Regions from separate parts of the Homo sapiens genome. Here region 1 is linked to region 2. The links are contacts of gene promoters, found by promoter capture Hi-C in human tissues and cell types (Jung and others, 2019). All regions are on one chromosome and are shown on one strand. Each heading gives the region's core, a stretch centred on a gene start or on the middle of the fragment in contact. The rest is flanking DNA. Distances are from core to core; before and after follow the strand shown. Region 1 overlaps ATP6V0A1 (ATPase H+ transporting V0 subunit a1). Region 2 holds the start of NKIRAS2 (NFKB inhibitor interacting Ras like 2).

Region 1 (6,065 bases), core at 1,754-4,253, 470 kb after region 2:
AGCTGAAATAATTTGGTCATATGCCCATGATTCTTCAGGGTTGTTCATGGCCAGGGCATCAGTTTCCTGATGCCCTCTCTGTATATGACTGTTTCTGTTTAGTAGTTAATTAGAACAACTACTCTGTCCACAGAAGTGCTGTAAGTGCCTGGAGGAGTACAGAGATGTATAAAACATGCCCTCGAGTATCTTACAGTTTATTAGGAGAGTTCCAACTATGGAGTTGGAAAAAGCTTTAAGCAGGTGGCATTTGATCAGGTCTTTGAAGAATGATAAGTTGTTGGTAAGACTGCTGAATGAAGAGAAGAAAACAAAGGCAGGAAGTATGGTTAGACCATGTATGTTTGGACAAGAACAGGATTTACAGTGGGTTAGCTGAAGAGAAGTACCTGTCTGCATCAGGTAGTTTGGAACTTAATTGTGAAAGGTTCTTAAATAATAGCTTAGAAGATTTAAATTTTATTCCAGAGGAAGTTGAGAGACATTGGAAGTTCTTTAGGGGTAAAGGAACATGATCAAAGCAGTTTGGGTGGTTTTTTACATTTTTAATTTTGTGTTTGAGACAAGATCTTGCTCTGTTACCCAGGCTGGAGTGCAGTGGTGCCATCTCAGCTCACTTCAGCTTCCAACTCCTGGGCTTAAGCAATCCTCCCACTTCAGACTCCCGGTAGCTGGGACTACAGGTGCCCACCATCATGCGTGGCTAATTTTTTGTAGAGACAGGGTTTTGCCATGTTGCCCAGGCTGATCTCAAATTCCTGGGCTCGAGTGATCTGCCTTCCTTGGCCTTCCAAAGTGTTGGGGCCAGGCGTGGTGACTCACTCTTGTAATCCAGCACTTTGGGAGGTTGAGGCGGGTCATCACTTGAGGTCAGGAGTTTGAGACCAGCCTGGCCAACATGACAAAACCCCGTCTCTACTAAAAATACAAAAAAGTTAGCCAGGTATGGTGGTGGGTGCCTGTGATCCCAGCTACTCAGGAGGCTGAGGCAGGAGAACCACTTGAACCCAGGAGGCAGAGGTTGCAGTGAGCTGAGATCATGCCACTGCACTCCAGCCTGGACAGCAGAGTGAGACTCTGTCTCAAAAAAAAAAAAAAAGTGGGTCACCACGCCTGGTGGATCAAAGCAGTTTTTTTGTTTTTTGGTTTTTTTTTTTTTGAGATGGAGTTTTGCTCTTGTTGCCCAGGCTGGAGTGCAGTGGCATGATCTCGGCTCACTGCAACCTCCACCCTCCACCTCCCTGCTTCAAGTGATTCTCCTGCCTCAGCCTCCTGAGTAGCTGGGATTACAGGTGTGCGCCACCACACCCAGCTAATTTTTTGTATTTTTAGTGGAGACGGGGTTTCATCACGTTGACCAAGCTGGTGTCGAACTCCTGACCTCAGGTGATCCACCCGCCTCAGCCTCCCAAAGTGCAGGGATTACAGGCATGAGCCACTTCTCCTGGCTCAAAGCAGTTTTAAAAGAGTAATCTGCTGATAGTATCTAGGTTGGATTGAGGAGTGAAGAGATTCTGTAGGTAGGGGTTCAGTTAGGAGGTTATTGTAGACATAGAGTAGTAAATGATAAGGATCCCCAGGTAGGACTTGACAATGGGAAAAAAAATGATGAATTGTGAGATGTTCTGCAGGAAAAATCAATAGGGCTACCTGGTTCCTAGCAAGGTGCAGGAGAAATACAAGGAGAAAGATTTAAACATCTTTTTGAGGCATCAAAGCTGACTGGCCAGGAGAATTAGGGTTCCAATGAGGGAAGTAAATGTTCAGCCAGAGAAGCTTATTGATTGGGGAGAGATGGTAAGTTCAGTTCCGGGCACATTGAGGTCTATGTGGAAATGTCAAGCAGACAAGGGAACAAAGCTAAGGAAATGGGAGTCATGAGAATGGAAGGGAATGAGACCTCCAAGAGGGAGGTCATAGAGAGAAAAAAAAGGTTGGGGTCTTGCAATGCTATGAGATAGGCAGAGCAGAAATAACCAGCAAAGATAGAAAAGCAATGGTCAGCGAGCAGGAGGAGAACTCCTAAGGAAGAAGGATTTTCACCAAAGATCTCCAATGTCAGGGGCGTGCATGGGGGAGAGAAGCTCTTTGGTCAGGAGCCAGTCACTTTGCCTAAGCATGCTCAGCCAGACTGCAAGGGATCAGGAAGTTAAGAGAAGGTAGTGAAGAAGGAGAGCCAGAGAACATACTTTGCTTTCTCCATGAAAGGGGGAGAACAACTTTCATAAAAAGGCAGATATGGAGGCAGTTCCACATTTTCTTTGGTGACATATTTTAAAGTTAAATTTTTTTCACATTAAGGATGTATTTCAGAGGATCTAATAGAAATCTTCCATTATAAATGTTATACCTTTTCCCAGTTTTCCCAAAAGCTGGGAAAGATAATCTAGTTTTATTTTTAGGTTTATTAGTTTTATTGAGATATAATTTACATGAAAGAAAATACATACATTTTATGTGTACCATTTGATGAGTTTCAAGAAATGTACACCTGTGTAACCACTACCACAATTAGGAGGATAACCTAAGTTTGATAAATGTGCTAATGTTTTTCAGGAACACAGTGGTTCCACTGTACCTTCCATTTTGAACAGGATGCAGACAAACCAGACTCCCCCAACCTATAACAAAACCAACAAGTTTACCTATGGCTTTCAGAACATAGTAGATGCTTATGGAATTGGAACTTACCGAGAGATAAATCCAGGTAAAAAAAAGCTTGTTATCTTTTTCCTCTAGAGTTTTTTTTGTTTGTTTGGTTGGTTTGGTTTGTTTTGAGACAGAGTCTCCCTCTGTCACCCAGGCTGGAGTGCAGCAGCACGACTGTAGTTCACTGCAGCCTCAAACTCCTGGCCTCAAGAGATCCTCCCAACTCAGTCTCCTGTATAGCTAGGACCACAGGCGCACAGCACCACACCTGGCTAATTTTTTATTTTATGATTTTTTTTTGACTGGGTCTCATTCTGTTGCCTAGGCTGTAGTGCAATGGTGAAATCACGGCTTACAGCAGCCTCAACCTCGTGGGCTCAAGTGATTCTCCCGCCTGAACCTCTGGAGTAGCTGGGACTACAGGCATGTGTCACCATGCCTGGCTAATTTTTAAAATTTTTTTAGAGATGGGTTTTGCTATGTTGCCCAGGCTGATAATTTTTAATTTTTTTTAGAGACGGGGTCTTGTTATGTTGCCCAAGCTAGTCTTGGACTCCTGGGCTCAAGGAAGCCTCCTGCTTCAGCCTCCCAAAGTGCTGGGATTACAGGTGTGACCCACTATGCCTGGCCTTTTTGTTCATTGTTTCTTCTAATGCCTCACTTTAAATGCTGTTGAATAACTGAATTAAAATTAAAGATGTTAATCCTAGCACTGTTTTTTTAATTTAATTTTATTTTTAATTTTTTTTGAGACGGAGTCTCGCTGTGTCACCCATGCTGGAGTGCAGTGGCGTGATCTTGGCTCACCGCAAGCTCTGCCTCCCAGGTTCACGCCATTCTTCTGCCTCAGCCTCCCGAATAGCTGGGACTACAGGCACCCGCCACCATGCCCGGCTAATTTTTTTTTTATTTTTTTTAGGTGAGACAGAGATTTACTCTCGTTGCCCAGGCTGGAGTGCAATGGCACGATCTCAGCTCACCACATCCTCTGCCTCCCAGGTTCAAGCGATTCTCCTGCCTCAGCCTCCCGAGTAGCTGGGATTATAGGCATGTGCCATCACGCCCGGCTAATTTTGTATTTTTAGTCGAGACGGGGTTTCACCATGTTGCCCAGGCTGATCTCTAACTCCTGACTTCAGGTGATCTGCCTGCCTCTGCCTCCCCAAGTGCTGGGATTACAGACGTGAGCCACTGCGCCCGGCCATTTTTTTGTATTTTTAGTAGAGACAGGGTTTCACTGTGTTAGCCAGGATGGTCTCGATCTCCTGACCTCATGATCCACCCGCCTTGGCCTCCCAAAGTGCTGGGATTACAAAGTGCTGGGTGGCGTGAGCCACTGCGCCCAGCCAATCCTAGCACTTTTAGAGGCCGAGGTAGGAGGATTGCTTAAGCCCAGGATTTCAAGATCAGCCTGGGCAACATAGTGAGACCCCATCTCTATTAAAAAATAAATAAACATGTTGACACCTCAGATCTTGTGTACTCCCTGTGAAGAGGTGCTCATTCTGGCAGGGCATGGTGGCTCACGCCTGTAATCCCAGCACTTTGGGAGGCTGAGGCATGTGGATCACATGAGGTCAGGAGTTTGAGACCAGCCTGGCCAACATGGTGAAACCCTGCCTCTACTAAAAATACAAAAATTAGCCGGATTTGGTGGCATGCACCTGTAGTCCCAGCTACTCGGGAGGCTGAGGCCTGAGAATCACTTGAACCCAGGAGGCAAAGGTTGCAGTGAACCGACATCATGCCACTGCACTCCAGCTTGGGCAACAACAAAAAGATGCCCATTTAATGTAAGGGGCAGGTTTACTGTCAGGTAGCGTTCCTTTAAGAGTTCATCGGCTGGGCCAGGTGTGGTGGCTCACGCCTGTAATCCCAGCACTTTGGGAGGCCGAGGCAGGTGGATCACCTGAGGTCAGGAGTTCGAGACCAGCCTGACCAACATGGAGAAACCCCGTCTCTACTAAAAATACAAAATCAGCCAGGCATGGTGGCTCTTGCCTGTAATCTCAGCGACTCGGGAGGCTGAGGCAGGAGAATCACTTGAACCGGGGAGACGGAGGTTGCCGTGAGCCGATATTGCATTATTGCACTCCAGCCTGGGCAAAAAGAGTGAAACTCTGTCTCAAAAAAAAAAAAAAAAAAAAGTTCATCGGCTGGGCGTGGTGGTTCATGCCTGTAATCCCAGCACTTTGTGGGGACAAGGTGGAAGGATCACTTAAGGTCAGGAGTTCGAGACCAGCCTGGCCAACATGGTGAAACCCTATCTCTACTAAAAATACAAGAAAATTAGCCAGGCCTGGTGGTGCATGCCTGTAATCCCAGCTACTCAGGAGGCCTAGACAGGAGAATTGCTTGAACCCAAGAGACAGAAGTTATAGTGAGCCTAAATTGTGCCACTGCACTCCAGCCTGAGTGACAGAGCAAGACTCTGTCTCAAAAAAAAAGTTCATGAGACTGGATTCTTTCATGTGCCCTCACAGCCCTAAAACACCTGGACTTCTCTAGCAAATCATTTGCAGGAACTGTTTTAAGCAAAATGTTTCTTCTAAGATGTCTGATATTTTTAAATGGCTTTTTTTTTGGCTTCCCTGTTCCAAGGTTAGACAGAAAAAATGTAGCAAGTATTGGCCACTTTAGGTACAACACAGATTTCTCCTATATTTGGAGAGTTAATTATTAAATCAAGAGTGTGAGTATTCATTTTCAGTTGGAGCCCTATGGAAGAACTGCTTTGCTCTGGGCTCTCTCCATCTGTACGTTATCTGATATTTAGCTTTATATCACTGGGACATGGTTGCTGCACAAAGAGAAGACAGCTGGCCTGCCCTGGGAGCAGGGTCCCACGAGTTACAAGAGAGTCAGAGAACAAACCAATGTTGTCAAGGTTACACCTTCATTTCCACTGTTCTTTGTTTGAAATGTTATCAGAGCTGCCAGGCACAGTGCCTCATGCCTGTAATCTCGGATATTCAGGAGGCTGAGGTGGGAGGATTGCTCAAGGCCACAAGTTCAGGACTAGCTTGGGCAAAATAGTGAGATTCCATCTAAAAAAATATTATTTATCAGTAATTTTAAAACAAAATTAACTGGGCATGGTGGCACATACTTGTAGTTCCAACTGTTTGGGAGGCTGAGGTGGGAGGATAACTTGAGTCCAGGGGTTGCAGGCTGCAGTGAGCTGTGATGAAACCACTGCACTCCAGCCTGGGTGGCAGAGAAAGACCCCATCTCTCTTTTAAAAAAAGTTATCAGTAGCTCAAATTTCATTAGCTACTTTGTGAAGATGTGTTGATTCTGCCATGAAAGATTTTCTCTGAGAGTCCTATCTGTCTGGCAGCTGGGGAGTAAGTCACCTTATATTGATCTTAAGATTATGGAAGCCTGGGCACGGTGGCTCACGCCTGTAATGCCAG
Region 2 (6,355 bases), core at 3,425-5,924:
AATTTTATGATAGACTATCCTCTAAGGCTGTGATTGAAGAAATGTATTTGCTTAAGATAGGAGGCTATGAAATGAAGTCCAAAATAGGGACACTCTACATCAGAGATTTACAATGAGTAGGGTGAGTTTTTAAAATTACCTATGGCCAGCCCGGCACAGTAGCTCACGCCTGTAATCCCAGCACTTTGGGAGGCCGAGGTGGGCGGATCACGAGGTCAGGAGATCGAGACCATCGTGGCTAACAGGGTGAAACCCCATCTCTACTAAAAATACAAAAAAAAAACAACAATTAGCCGGATGTGGTGGTGGGCACGTGTAGTCCCAGCAACTGGTGAGGCTGAGGCAGGAGAATGGTGTGAACTCAGGAGGCGGAGCTTGCAGTGAGCTGAGGTCGCGCCACTACACTCCAGCCTGGGCGACAGAGCGAGATTCCGTCTCAAAAAATAAAAAATAAATAACCTGTGGCCAAATCCCTATTTACAGTATAAAGAACCACTGAACTCTTTCCAAATACAAGTAAATCTCTACAATTAATTTAAGCTCCGTCTGCACTGGGAGGAATTTTGTTTCCCATTGTGCAGCTCTTTAATGATGTATAAGGGTTGATGATGCTTAGCTTTAAATATCTAGGAAGAAGTAGGAACAACATGAAAGCTCAAAATTAAGAACAGAGACTGGACTCTGGTGTCCTGGCTTCTCTGATATCCCAGGGGCCTATTACACTTTGTCAGGCCCCTCAGCTCCCAGCAGATCAGGAACTTGAGATCTGGCTGTGGTAACCACCCTCAAGCTTGATAACTATTCATTGCGTCCGAGTACTTCTTATATTTCGAACTCATTAGATAGTAAAAATCTCAGAATCCTGATTTCAGATCTCATGAACTAATTCTACATCACCGCCTCAAATTACCCAGCCTGAAGACACAACGGGCTTGGTATGAAGATATAAAGTATGTTGCAAAGAGACTGAGGGCACTGTAGATATCTTGAACAAAAGGGTCAGACTAACCCGCAGCTGATAAGGAAAGGGCTCCAAACTTCTAGAACCTTCTTGTCAATTCTGCTTTAGGATTAGAACAAGTATGACTACCCACAACTCTGTTCCAACCCCACTTCCAATAATCTGGCCTAACTGTTGCCAGAATCTAGAGCGTTCTCGAAAACCACTCACTCAGCAGCTCCCTTGGCTAGTCCGACTGGCAATCTCGAACCACTGCGGCTGCTTCGGAGTGCCAACAGCGCCCAAGCAGTTGCCCTCTTCCTTGGTGCTTAACTTAAGAAAGAACAGTGCTGGGAAGGATAAAGATCACCCAGGAAGGACAGGGGAAGAGGAGTCTGACGTAGAGAACACGAGATAAGCCCCTCGCTCTTCCTTTTTTTCTCTGTCATCTTTGACTTCTGGGATAACCGGGGGCAACCAGGTCAATTATGGAGACACACAATCACTTCGAACCCAGACTAGTGATCGCTGGGGTATAATTACAAGGGAAAACGGGGTGAGGAGAGCAAAGGTTTTGGAGACGGAAAGTGCAGACAGGCAACAATGCACAGAAGTTAACAAGAGAACGCGGGGGTCGGGGGCGATGTAAGGAAGTCGTCATCGACGCCGCGCCGCTTCCCCCACCTCGCACCAGACCTCTGAAATTGCCCTCGGAGACTCGGCCTCTCCTATAAGGACGATCGTCCTCTCAGCTGGAGAACAAGGCCATGCCTCAGCTCCTACGCCAGGCGGAAGCGGGAGAGGAAGGCCGACCCCCAAGAGCGCCCCTTCAGGGGGTCCATCCGGCCTTGATCTCAGATGGGGGGGTGTTTGCGGAGGGCGGGGCATCGCCTCAACAGCTGGGGGCTGCATCATGGCAGGAACGAGTTTCCCTGAGCCACGGAGCTGCAGGTCGCCTCCTCTACTACCCTGCTACCCGGTTACCTCTTCGCCTCTTGGTCGTCGAGCAGCTCCGGCTCGGTCGCCGCCATTACCACATCGCACTCCGCGGCAGCCGCCATCTTACCGCCGGGACCAGAGAGCTGGGTGGGAGGCCGGCGGTGAAGAGCACTTCCGGTTGGAGCATAGAGCAGCTCCGCGGCGCCGCGCCCAGAAGGGCTCCCTCGGGCTCGTCTACCAGAGAGAGGCTCCGCTTGGGGCCAGAGCGGCCTCCCGCCCCCGGATGTCCACGGTGGTCTCCGCGCCGGGGCGGGAGCCCAGGGGCTGTGCCGGTGCGTAGGCGGCGCCACTTTACCCGTGGGTGGGAAGGCGGGGTGTACCGGTGGTAGCCTCTCTAGGGCTTGGCTGCTTTCAGTATTCCAAGAGCCTCATTGCCATAGCAACTTCCAATCCTAGAGAGTCTTCCTGAAAGGCTCCGTGGAGTCTGGGTTGCGTGGGGACCAGGTGACCCAAGACTCTGTAGGGAAGGAGTCCCCACTGCTACCTTTCCGACCTTGGAGTGTGTCCACAGCTTCTTCCCGGGAAAGTCAAGAGACACTTTGAGCTCAGTTCCCCCAGCTTTCATCGTTCTCTGGAAGCCCTGCCCAGTCAAGCCAGGGGAACGCAGGGCGTCTTCACCCTGCGCCTTTCATCCACTCCGGATCTCCAAACACCAACTGGTTCATCACCCTAATGACGCTGACCCTTTTACAAGGCTCCTTTCATGTCAGCCGCCTGGGAGTGCCATCTCAGCATTAAGCCTAGGAAAGCTGACACATGGCGCCCCAGACCCTGCCCTGGAGTTTATAAGGAAGCTCGCGGGGTGAGGTCCTTGCTCTTGTGTCCCCAGTACTCCCACCTCTTATATAAACTCTCTACTCATCACGCTTGCCTTGCCGAATGCGGTCTGGATTGAGAATTCATAGGGGACAAGGGCACAGTTTAACTGTCTTTGTTGTTATTCCCTCACCCAAACGACTATTTGTGGAGCTGAATTAAATTGGAGCTTTCTGGGGTTAAATTGGAGGAGTATGAGGAGTAGCTTTACAATGTAAAGCTAAGAGTAAAATAAGAAGAGGGCAAAGGAATTTTAAAAGGATTTACCTGTTTGTTCCAGGAAAACAGCATGTGCCAATGCTCATACTCTGCCTATCCCAGTGTGGAGGGAGCTGAAACCACAGCGACCACTGAGTAGGGAGGGATAGGACAAGCTCACTAGGTTGGAAAGGAGGGGTCATTCGTTGAGCCAATCACTCAGCCCTTTCCAAAACGCCTACTCTGTGCTAGGTTGTGAGGGCACAAGACTTACAGACCACCTGCCCTGCCTGCCAGTGGCTCATAGTCCAGTCTAATGCTAGCCAACCTGTCTCACCATCTTCCCACTTTATGTTCTATCTAAGGCAACTCATTTATTCCCACAGCTTTACTTCCATCTGTTGATGACTCTCAACTTTTCATATCTCCAACCTAGACCTTTCTTCAGCTTCCACAGCTGTATATCCAACTATCTACTGGATATCTCTTGTATGTTTCACAAATCCCCAAGGCTTACCATATTTAAATTTAACTTTTTCATTGTCTACCCACACCTCAACAACAGAAAAAACAAATGTTGGATGTAATTATTATCTTTCCTAAATTCCGTATCTTGTTAAATGGATTAAACCATTCTCACTCTTGGCTTCCAATTTGTTGCCAAGTTTTGTTGATTCTCCTACCAAATATTTCCCAAATCTATCTCCACCTTTCCATCCCGATTCAGGCGCTCATCATTTTTTAAAATCTTGGAATAGGCTGGGTGTGGTGGCATGCATCTGTAGTCCCAGCTATTTGGGAGGCTGAGGCAGGAGGATCACTTGAGCCCAGGAGTTAGAGGCTGCAGTGAGCTATGATCACACCAATGTACTCCAGCATGGAGAAAAGAGCAAGACCCTGTCTCAAAAACGGCAACAACAACAACAACAAAACAACAGAAAAAAAAACTTGGAATACATCAATAGTCTCCTAATCGGTCTCTAATTTCATCTCTGTTCAGTCTTCCCTCTTCTGCCAGAGTGACCTTCCTCAGGGACTGATCATGTCTCTTCATTGGCAATGGCTTTCCATTGCCGTCAATTTGATCTCTTTGGCCTACCACACAAAGCCTTTGATTATCTGTTTCTTTTTTTAAATAATTTAATTTGAGTACCAATATTTAGGTCCTTTCTACCACCAATATTGAACCCAAGTTCTCATAGTTTCAGAAAATGCCATGACTTGTAGCCGTTTCCTCCACCCTAGAACACCCTTTCCCCCAGGCCCTTCAGTGTCTGCTGACTCAACGTTAAATGCCCTTTTGCTGTGCTCCACAGCACCTCAGTAGTTGTTAGACATCTAGCTTCTCTAGACCGTGAGTTCTGATGGGCAGCCACCATGTCTAACTCGTCCACTTTCTCTCAGTATATGGCCCTGCACCAGGCACAGACAGATGATGCTCAGAAAACATTTGACGAATAAATGATTGAGTAAACGAAGAGTTACTGTACTCTGATCGCCTTTACAGAGAGAACATCTGGGCCTCAGAGACACCAGAACACCCAGCGGCCCGCGTCCAGGGAGTCTAGAACCTTGGGCTCCCGCGCACACCCAGGCCAGGTCCTGGCCGTCATTCTCCCGCCGGCCTCTGGGGGAGCTGCGCGGTCCGCGCTCTCTCTCCGCTGCCGGAATTCGTCTTGCCTGACGGAAGCTGGGGAGCGGGCAGGCGGCGGGGGCGGGGCCTGGAGGAGCCTACACCGACTCTGGAGGAAGACTGGAGCCTTTGCGGCGGCGCTGCCCCTCCCCTGGTCCCCGCGAGCTCGGAGGGCCCGGCTGGTGCTGCGGGGGCCCCGGGAGGTACGGACCTGGGAGGCGAGGCTCGTCCGGCGCTAGGATCGGCCTCCGCCTCCGGGCCGCTTTAGGTGGCTGGTCTCTGCCTCTCATTCCCTCTGGGGGCTCCCCCGTGAGAAAATCTGTGGCGGAGGCACCTCTGGCCCACTCTTATGGTGTCCTTTATTGTGGGGCTCGCTATATGGAGAGGGGGTCTGTGTCAGGAGCTTCCCCTGGAGAGGTTTCTGTTAGGGACCGTCTTTGGGAGTGATCTATCTCTGCTCTCTGGGGGGGATCTTTGTCTGGAGCTTTTGGGGGGCTTGTGTTTGGAAGTTTGCCTTCGGGGAGATATCTGTCTGGGACCTCTTAGGGTTTCTGTATCTGAGCTTTCTCTTTTGTGTCTGTCAGTCCAAGGGCAGCAAAAAGTATGTCCTTTCTGAAGCCTTTTTTTCCGTAGGTTTCTTCATTCTTTTCTCTCTTGTCTTATGTTCATTTTAGCCATAGACTTGACTGGAGTTTAGAGGGAATTGATTGTTGTCCAGATGAGTCGTACAGGAAAGCAGATTGTCTTTTTTTGAGACGGAGTCTTGCTCTGCCGCCCAGGCTGGAGTGCAGTGGCATATTCTTGGCTCACTGCAATCTCCGCCTCCTGGATTCAAGCGATTCTCCTGCCTCAGCCTCTCAAGTAGCTGGGATTACAGGCACCCGCCACCACGCCTGACTAATTTTTTGTATGTTTAGTAGAGATGAGGTTTCACTATGTTGGCCAGTCTGGTCTCGAACTCCTGACTTTGTGATCTGCCCACCTCGGCCTCCCGAAGTGCTGAGATTACAGGCGTGAGCCACCGTGCCCTGCCCCAGATTATCCTTTTTATTTGCTCAGTCCCCCCAGGGAGCAGATGGCTTCAGACAGCCACACAAAACACTGTTCCTGCTTAATTCTCCATGGGGTCATGGTTAAAGAGAGGAAGCTGGGCTGAGCTCCCTTTACTAATTGGTCCTCTACATCTTGCGCACAGAAGGGAACCTGGCCCAGTGGCCAGTGACTCTCCTCTCCCTTTATGGCAGCATTTCCAAGCACCTGCCCTGTGACAGATACTGGCTAGGTACTGGGGATAACAAAGACGAATAAAATAACAGCTTACCATCCAGTAGTAGACATGGAGACATCCGTTTCCTCTGACTAGCATTGGGATGGTGCTGAAACCCTGGAACTATACATTCAGTTTAGAACTATACATTCAGTTTAGAACTCTCAGTTATGGACGTTCTGCCTTCTGTTTTTTTGGTTTTTGTTTTTGTCCACCAGAAAACATCTGCTAGTAACTGCCTTCTGTGTTGATGCTTTCTTTCCTCACCTTACCCAGCGTGCTTCTGTTCTTCAAGGTTGAAAACTAAGCATGGGGAAGAGCTGCAAGGTGGTCGTGTGTGGCCAGGCGTCTGTGGGCAAAACTTCAATCCTGGAGCAGCTTCTGTATGGGAACCATGTAGTGGGTGAGTGTTGTTGGAGGGGGAGGAACAGTGGAAGAAGTTGAAAAATAAGGAATAGGACTTGATCACAACACACACAGGCTAAAAGCTGCTCCTGGTGGT

Evidence for each region. Contacts are between HindIII fragments. The study calls those that stand out against the background at their distance.
Region 1: a fragment that was not itself captured here is called in contact with the fragment with the promoter of NKIRAS2 in region 2 in 2 of the 25 tissues and cell types used here (lymphoblastoid cells and spleen).

The regions. Positions count from the first base shown.
Region 1 is chr17:42,487,931-42,493,995 of GRCh38, forward strand. ATP6V0A1 (ATPase H+ transporting V0 subunit a1) reads left to right here. Exons shown (of 22, transcript NM_001130021.3): 11 at 2,557-2,707. Among named protein-coding and RNA genes, the nearest start is that of MIR548AT, 3.8 kb to the right of the region's middle. The HindIII fragment of the contact is 3,999 bases long and covers 1,005-5,003 here.
Region 2 is chr17:42,015,416-42,021,770 of GRCh38, forward strand. It overlaps NKIRAS2 (NFKB inhibitor interacting Ras like 2), which reads left to right and starts at 4,675. Exons shown (of 4, transcript NM_017595.6): 1 at 4,675-4,789; 2 at 6,149-6,256. The coding sequence starts at 6,163. It overlaps DNAJC7 (DnaJ heat shock protein family (Hsp40) member C7), which reads right to left and starts at 2,024. Exons shown (of 14, transcript NM_003315.4): 1 at 1,925-2,024. The coding sequence starts at 2,001. RefSeq lists enhancers at 1,233-2,432, 1,543-1,592, 1,663-2,072 and silencers at 2,183-2,332, 4,559-4,968. The HindIII fragment of the contact is 10,906 bases long and covers 1-6,355 here.